Linked DNA regions of Homo sapiens: all the other regions are linked to region 2. Evidence: promoter capture Hi-C in human tissues and cell types (Jung and others, 2019). All regions are on one chromosome and are shown on one strand. The core of a region is centred on a gene start or on the middle of the fragment in contact, and the rest is flanking DNA. Distances in the headings are between cores, read along the strand shown. Region 1 holds the start of LOC124903983 (a long non-coding RNA gene). Region 2 holds the start of CCL13 (C-C motif chemokine ligand 13). Region 3 has its middle 270 kb from the start of LINC01989.

Region 1 (2,703 bases), core at 68-2,567, 420 kb after region 2:
GAGGCTCTAAGGCCTGTTTCGTGCATCTGGAAGGACCTTGATTATTGATAGCCTGTCTAGGTTGGCCCCACGTGCCTCCTCAAAGGATTCTGTGATGCCGGAGTATGAACGAGTGAGACCTCACACCTGCTCTTTCCTTTTAATCCTGACATCTGTTTCCCACAGGAAATGTCCAGAGCAAGTCAGAGTGGCCTTTTTCTCTTGGTTTTATTTTCTTCCCTGCTAAGTTGGTCCTCATCCCCTGGATTAGGGCACATTCCCAGTGCATGAGGTCCTAGAAGAGGTGACTTCCCAGGTCACCCAGCCACTGTCCCTCACAGCTCGGTGCAGTCGCTGAAATCAATTCCTGCTCTGTCCCGTACTCACCTCTTTCCAAGCCTGAGCTTATTCATTTGAAAAATGGCTGAATCTCATTGGCCTTGCAGCATTGATGTTTGTGTTCATTGAACAAGCATTCTCTGAGTATCCAGTATGTGCCAGGCACTGCGGTGAATAAAAGAGACAGAGGCTCCCTGTCTGGAGGAAACAGAAAGTAAACATGCAATTCAATGTCAGGGAGTAATAAGAATTTTAAAGAAAAACAAAGCAGGGTGAAGGGATAGTGATTGGTTCTGACTGGGATTGAGGAAGTGAATCAGGGATGGCTTCTTTGAGGAGGTGACTTTCTAAGCATGCAACTGTCCAGGGGAGAGTGTTTTAGGCAGAAGTAACAGCATGTGCAAAGGCCCTGTGATGGGCATGGCTGGCTATGCTGAAAAGCAAGGTCAGGTTGACTGGAGCTCCAGGAGACATACGAGGGTGGGAGGACATGGACCAGCCTGTGCAAGGCCTCCAGGGCCTTAGAGACCTCAGAGGTCTTGAGGAAGGAATCAGAAGGAATCAAAATTTAGAAAGTTTTGAGCAGAGAAGTGGCAGAATCTTTGCCTTCTTGATCTTTCTCATTCCTGCTCTTCACCCAGAGTCTCAGCTGTAAATCTCTAAACCTCTGCAGTCTAAAATGCTTCTAGGACAGCATTGCCCAATAGAAATTTAATGCAAGCCACAAAGGCACTTTTAAAGTTTCCAGTGACCATATTTTAAAAATAAAACAGGGGAAATTAATTTATCATACTATATATATATATATATATATTTTTTTTTTTTTTTTTTTTTTTTTTTTTGAAACAAAGTTTCGCTTTTGTTGCCCAGGCTGGAGTGCAATGGTATGATCTTGGCTCACTGCAACCTCCGCCTCCTGGATTCAAGCAATTCTCCTGCCTCAGCTTCCCAAATAGGTGAGATTACAGGCATGTGCCACCATGCTCGGCTAATTTTGTATTTTTAGCACAGACAGGGTTTCTCCATGTTGGTCAGGGTGGTCTCGAACTCCCAACTTCAGGTGACCTCAAGTGACCCGCCAGCCTCAGCCTCCCCAAGTGCTGGGATTACAGGCATGAGCCACCATGCCTGGCTTTTATACTATATTTTATTTAGCCTCATATATCCAAAGTATTATCATTTCCACATGCAATCAATATAAACAATATTCATGACATATTTCACCTTTTGTCATACTGTCTTCAAAATCTGATGTGTACTGTACACTTATAGCATATCTCAGTTTAGACCAGCCATGTTTCAGGAGCTCAAAGCCACATGTGGCCAGTGGATACTGCATTGAACAGAGAGCTCCTGCAGCCTGGGGTGGGGAAGACACCAGGTTCCTCTGCAGGAGCACCTGGTGAAGGGAGAGAGAGGGAGAAAGAACCCATTCCAGATCACCCTGGGAAGGTGGCGTTGGAATTGACCCTGCCTATTCTGGGGAACCTACCTGGCCTGGCTCAGCTCCCTCTTGGGAAGCAGAGAGGATATAAATTGAGCCCAGAAGTAGAGAGGATATAAATTGAGCCCGACAGACCCAGCATGGCTCTCATCTAATCAGTTCTAAGACTTGAATAAAGAGCCTTTTTAAAGGTCTACTGGAATCAGCGCCAACATTACTTTCTTAAAGGAAATGTTGAGAACGGCCGAACAGCGCTCATTCCCCATGCAGTTTTGAGTAGATACACTCCACCACCTCCCGCTCTGAAACTGATGGAGCCTGGCCCATGTTCAGAAGGCCCTTCTAGCTCATAAAGAGGGATTCAGCAAAGCAGTCCTTTTCCCAGACTGCACCTTCAGGCTAGCTGGTGGCTTAGAGGAACCTGAGAACACTCCCAGTTGACAACACACAGAACAAGTGTTTGATAAGCTGCTGTCAGCTGCCTAAGAGAGCTTAAGGGGTGGAGAAGCGCTGTGCTTTGCTAAAGCAGGGATACCAGCCCTCCTTTGCATCAAGCTAGAGGTAAGGGAGGAGACCACCCCTCATATTGTCTTATGACCAATTTCTGCCTCAAAGAAAAAGTAGGAGTTAAAGAAAAGACAGAAGTGAAATCAGTAGTCAGACAGCCCGGCGCTGCATTTCAGGCCTGGTAGTTAAAAATCAACCCCTGACTTAACTGCTTGTGTTATCTATAGATTCCAGACATTGTATGGAAAAGCATCGTGAAAATCCCTGGCCTGTTCTGCTCTGTTCTGATTACCGGTGCGTGCAGCCCGCAGTCACGTACCCGCTGGTTGCTCAATCGATCACGACCCTCTCACACGGACCCCCTTAGAGCTGTAAGCCCTTAAAAGGGACAGGAATTGCTCGCTCGGGGAGCTCGGTTTTTGGAGACGTGAGTC
Region 2 (2,700 bases), core at 127-2,626:
ACTGCTCTTGCTGCCCCTGGGAAACTGATCCTGGCATCTGCTAAAGGGTGTGGGCTGGTGCCCATCCAGGAAACAAGGTGTGGGAAATTATAGGTCCTCTTTGGACCTGTTGTGCAGCCAAAATTGGAGGATTTGCATCACACAGTCTGGCTAGATCTCATCCTAAGATCTCAAGTCAGTCTGACGTCTGTCTCCTGGGGCAGAACTTTGGATTGGGGAATGTGGGAGTGGGGAGGAGCCAGGTGAGCAGGGATTTTTCTACCCACATGACAGCCTTCTGGGGACACCTGCTGGTGGTGATCACATAGCTCTTCAGCCTCTGCAAGGAGATCTTCTTACTGCTAAATGTGAAGCAGCAAGTAGATGGGACGTTGAGTGCATCTAGAAATAGTTACAAAGAAAAAGACTTTGAGGATGTGTTAGGCTTTTCTCAGCTTGAATACAGCAGGGAGCATCTGTATGGGATGCAAAGCAAAGAGGAAGAAATAGATCTTACTCACCCCCAAGCCCAGCACTCCCACCCTAGACCCTGAGGTGAGGTGGGACCTGTGACATGTGCCTCAGGATCTCAAAGGCTCAGCTGCATGGTGGAGACATGTCACAGCCATCTAGGGGAGGCCACGGGCAAGGCCAGTGGGAAAGGTCCTGGGTGTGGTCCCAGATCTGCAGAGTTTGGGACGATCAGATGAGGTCAAAGAAAAGGCCCTAAATCTGGAGTCAGAAGCTTAGGTTTCATTCTTGCTCTGCAATAACCTGGAGGTGGATGGCTAGGGTCCCTTCTGCCTCCAACATGGGCTTCAGCTTTCTATCTTTAAAATTAGATGTTAAAGTGAACCTCTGAGGAGCCTTACTATTCTGGTGGGCTTAGAAGTGGGGCACTTGGCTGGGCCTGGTGGCTCACGCCTGTAATCCCAGCACTTTGGGAGGCCGAGACGGGAGGATCACTTGAGGTCAAGAGTTTGAGACCAGCCTGGCCAACATAGTGAAACCCCTTCTCTACTAAAAATACAAAAATTAGCTGCACGTGATGGCGGGTGCCTGTAATCACAGCTACTCAGAAGGCTGAGGCAAGAGAATCGCTTGAACCTGGGAGGTGAAGGTTGCAATGAGCCAAGATCGCACCCCTGCACTTCAGCCTGGGCAACATAATGAGACTCAATCTAAAAAAAAAGTGGAGGAGCACTCGGGCTTAGGTCTTCCTTGAATAGAGAAACAGAGGGAAAGAGAGGGAGAGTCGAAGGGAGGTGACTTACCTGGCTGAGCAAGTCCCTGGGGGTTGAAAGCTGCTGTCATGAGCAGCAGGCACAGAAGCACTGCAGAGACTTTCATGTTGAAGGTTAAGAGTTGGAGATTTCACAATGTTTCTTTGCCTCTCTGCTCCTCTGGCTGTTCCGCCGGCCTTTTATAGGGAGTGGAGAAGCTTGGAACTCTCAGAGGACCTTGGCCTGAGCAGGGCGTTGACCAAGTCATGATGAAGGGGGATCCTGAATCTGCTGAGCTGGAGCTGGGCACCAAAGACTTTTCTAGGAAATGCAAGAGGGAAGCTGAGGGCTGAAACAGCATGGCATGGCTTCCTTCTGGCTGTTCAGGCCACAAGGAGCCAGAGAGGAGAAAGGGACACAGACGCGCCCCAGCCATTCACCATGGGAAGCCATAAAGGAGCTGTTTTCTTCTTACTTTCTCCAACAGGAAAGAGAAAAACAATGAAAATTAACTCCTGTAGAGAAAGAGTGCTGTGCTAAGGACTCTGTTCACGTTATATATTTAGTTTGAGGAGGTACATACCATTATTATCATGCCCATTTCATAGAAGAGGAAACGGATGCAGAGAGATTAAATAACTTGACCAAAATCTTATGGGAAATGAGAGGGAAAGCTAGAAGAGAAAGCTGGTCTGCTTATATTTTATCACCAAGGCAGTTTCAACTTTTGTTTAGCAGCAGAAGTCTTTTTCCAAGTCAACTTTTATGTGGAAGTCTAATATCTGAAACAGATTAAGTCAGATTTCTGATGACAGGGGCTCCTTACATTACATATTGTGTCCCCTTCTGCCCCTCAGGCCCAGAGGGACATGGTTCAAACACCTCTGATTGATGCAGGCCCCGTGTTTCCAGGAAGGACCATTGGGTTTCTAGAGCTGTTGATGGGAGGGCTGGGGTGGCCCTCAGAGCAAAGAAGTGAGGTGTTTGGCCCATTCCTGGGCTCCTCCTGCGAGGGGCACATATCTGGGAGCTGGGAGGTGGGGAGGGAATGGCTTAAAATGGTTGAACATGTCCCTTTCCCACTCATCCCTAGCTCCAAGACTTGGCACAGTTTTTGTGCCTTCCTGGAATACTCATCCCTCTGCATTCCACTATAGCAAAATAAGCCCAGTGAAAGTAAAGGGAAGAAATAAAGAGCTAGGATTAGAGAAATAGGAAACAGTAAATATTAGAAAGGATAGATGAAGCCCAAAGCTGGTTCTGTAGCCTATAATTAAGCTAAAACTCTCCTGAACTGAAAATGAAAAAAAAAAGAAAAAAGGGGCTGAGGCGGGGGGATCACTTGAGGTCAAGAGTTCTAGAGCAGCCTGGACAACATGGTAAAACCCTGTCTTTACTAAAAAAAATACAAAAATTACCCAGGCATGGTGGCACATGCCTGTAATCCCAGCTACTTGGGAGGCTGAGGCAGGAGAATTGCTTGAACCTGGGAGGCCGA
Region 3 (2,744 bases), core at 197-2,696, 440 kb after region 2:
CACTGGGTCATACTCAGAAAGGAGACTAAGAAGAGAGTCTTGATTTTGGTATTTCAGAGGTCACTGATGATTGTATTAGATTTCTGCATCAGCTAGAATTCTTTCTTCTGGAAATAACATAAATCCCAGTGAGCTGGCTTCAGCTAAAAGACTGAGTTAAATTGAAAAGACTAGCAAATAGGGATGTCATCAGGTGTGGCATGATTCAGGGATTCAGATGATGTCACCAGGATCCTACTTTGGTTCTCTCCAGTTCTCAGCTCCACCTCTCTGGGTGGGCTTCATGCCCAGCCCAGCTCTCTCTCCTTGTGGTATTAAGTACCTACCGGTACTTAGTAGCCCAAGGCCTTTCTTCTCTCAGGTTTAAATCCAACAGCAAAGAGAAATGGTCTTTGTCTCAGCAGCCTCAGAAAAAGTCTCATGTGCCCATCCCTGCACAGATCACTAACTGGCTCAGGTCAAGATCATATTATCCACCCTGGAGTTGCATGCCTAGCCAAACCAAATCTCATATGTTGGGAGTGAAAAAGGAACTGGTTATCTGGGAGGAGAATTGGAATATGGAAAAGGGAAAGGAAGTAGCATAAGCAAAGTCAAGGAGGTAGGAAAGTAGGCATAGTCTGCATTCTCCCTTCTTCTCCCTGGAAGAAGGAAGAAACACCCTGTGGTATCCTCTTTTGAGTCTCCCTCCTCTGGGGATTTCAGCTTTGCTTTCCTCACAGTGTGCTGGACATCATGCTCTTGAGTGTCCCCACGGGGCCTCAGGCCTGGTGTGCCTTCAATCTCACCTATGCCATCTTCCCCACAACCCTCAATCCCAAACTTGATTCTCCTCTTGACTTTCACTCAGCTAGTCAATAGTGAAACCTAGAAGTCAATGAAACCCCTTTGCATCCTTTACCCTCAAGTCAGTTTTCCAGTTTCTTCGCTGTAGAAAAAGGGAAAATGCATGCTATGAGGAGTGGCAGAAACATTAGATGTTTATTGCAGCGGCCTCTGCAGAAAGCACTTCGGGAGACTGGTGAGAGGGAAACTAGTGTTGAAACAGTTAAGTATCGAGTGTGTGATTAAGAGCCAATAGATGCTCATTTGAGAAAATTGAGAAGCAGAAAAACGGGCTGTAGCTTGAGGAGAAATGGGCAAAAGTCATCTTAAATGGGATAAATCTGAACATGTCTGAAAGCTGAGAAGAGGACCCCAAGGCAAGTAGGAAGACATTGAAGGTGAGAGAGATGCCAGGGCAGTAATTGAAGGAGTACTCACTTTCCAAGAGAACCAAGAAAGGCTGGGGTAGAGAGCAGGAACAGCCCTGGAGGGAGGTGGGGCCCATTCATGCTTCTGAGATGGGGGAAGGACAAATACAAAAGAACTGAGAAGCCCCTGGCAAATGATGGGCTTTCTTAAAGCCAGGCACACCTGTAAAGGTGTATTGTCTTCTTGCTCCCAGGTCTCAGATTTGCACAGCTATTGAGCCTCACTTCTTGGATTATTGGTCTTGTCACCAATAATCCAAGTTCCTCCTAACCCTTCAAGGAAATGGAGCCATTTAATTTCATTGCTGATGCCCTTGACATCTATCTGGCAGGCCGAGGTGAGGGCAGAGCACTGTCCAGTCATATGTTGCCTGCGTACGCCAGCTGTGTTTGGTGCTAACCCTTCAGGTTGAGTTAAGACAGCCACAGCAGACCATATGAAGAGTTCTAAACATGATGGATCATGCCTTCCGAAAGTATCTATTCTTAAGATATAGAAAAGAACAACACAGGCCTATGGGCATTCTTGTCACCTGATCGATCAACTGTGACTACTTCGTAAGCATTTATCTACTCATGGCCCTGAGCCAGACAGCTCAGAAAACCATGGCTCCCTTTCCCAGCTTACTTAAAATCTCAGCAATGGAAGGCATCTTGAGGTCATTGAAAAATAAAAGTGTTTTAGAGTCAGACTGGCCTGGGTTTGAATGCCAACTCTGCTATATACAGTCTGTGTAACCTTGAGCAGGTCCCTACAACACTGCGTGTCCTCAACTTCTTTATGTGCCACCCCACATCCAGGTGGCCCCATATGGCCTTCATTCTTGGTCGCTTGTTTGGCTTCCCCATCAGAAGACACCACCTACCCCTTAGCCTGTTCCTGCAGTTGTAAAACTCTGGCCACCATCTCTGTCTCCTGATTCCCAAACTCTGCAGATTCATCGAGGCTCCCCTGAGACTGAACTGGGTTTTGTCAGGGCCTCTATTGCACACGAATTGAAGGGAACCACAGACCATCAGCATCCAGGTCCACCCCAACTGACTCACAGAGGCTCTGGCTTCCCCACTGGCTGCCCTGAGAGGCTGGATAACATAAATGAGAACTGCAGAGTCACCACCCTACAGGGCCAACTTTCGTAATGAAAGACAGGAGCCTGGAAGAAACCAGCCAGTAAATTCTCACCTGCCCAGCCCACAATGGACCGTTTGCAATGTAGATGTCCTATATGGCCTCTCCAGCATCATCTTGTGAGATGGAGCAACCAGTTGTGTTTTCTTGCAATGTTGTGGCCAGCTCAGTTGTGCATCACCTTGAAACTGCTTCTCTTCCTACTCTACTCTACGCCCCCTTTCCCTTATTTATGATTCCCTGGGATTATGGTCTCGCCCTGCGATAAAGTTTAGTAAGTAAGCTTGGCTCTGAGCTCTATTTTCTGGACAACCCAGACATAGTCTCCGAGTTTTAGTTTCCTGATTTATAAAATAGAATTA

What was found. Contacts are between HindIII fragments. The study calls those that stand out against the background at their distance.
Region 1: a fragment that was not itself captured here is called in contact with the fragment with the promoter of CCL13 in region 2 in 1 of the 25 tissues and cell types used here (mesenchymal stem cells).
Region 3: a contact is called between a fragment that was not itself captured here and the fragment with the promoter of CCL13 in region 2, in 1 of the 25 tissues and cell types used here (mesenchymal stem cells).

The regions. Positions count from the first base shown.
Region 1 is chr17:33,931,171-33,933,873 of GRCh38, reverse strand. It overlaps LOC124903983 (a long non-coding RNA gene), which reads left to right and starts at 1,228. Exons shown (of 2, transcript XR_007065719.1): 1 at 1,228-1,274; 2 at 2,497-2,703. It also overlaps a transcript of ASIC2 not described here. RefSeq lists an enhancer at 2,370-2,664. The HindIII fragment of the contact is 5,499 bases long and covers 1-2,703 here.
Region 2 is chr17:34,355,156-34,357,855 of GRCh38, reverse strand. CCL13 (C-C motif chemokine ligand 13) reads right to left here and starts at 1,376. Exons shown (of 3, transcript NM_005408.3): 1 at 1,254-1,376; 2 at 267-381. The coding sequence starts at 1,329. The HindIII fragment of the contact is 2,821 bases long and covers 1-2,303 here.
Region 3 is chr17:33,913,921-33,916,664 of GRCh38, reverse strand. It overlaps a transcript of ASIC2 not described here. Among named protein-coding and RNA genes, the nearest start is that of LINC01989, 270 kb to the left of the region's middle. The HindIII fragment of the contact is 8,443 bases long and covers 1-2,744 here.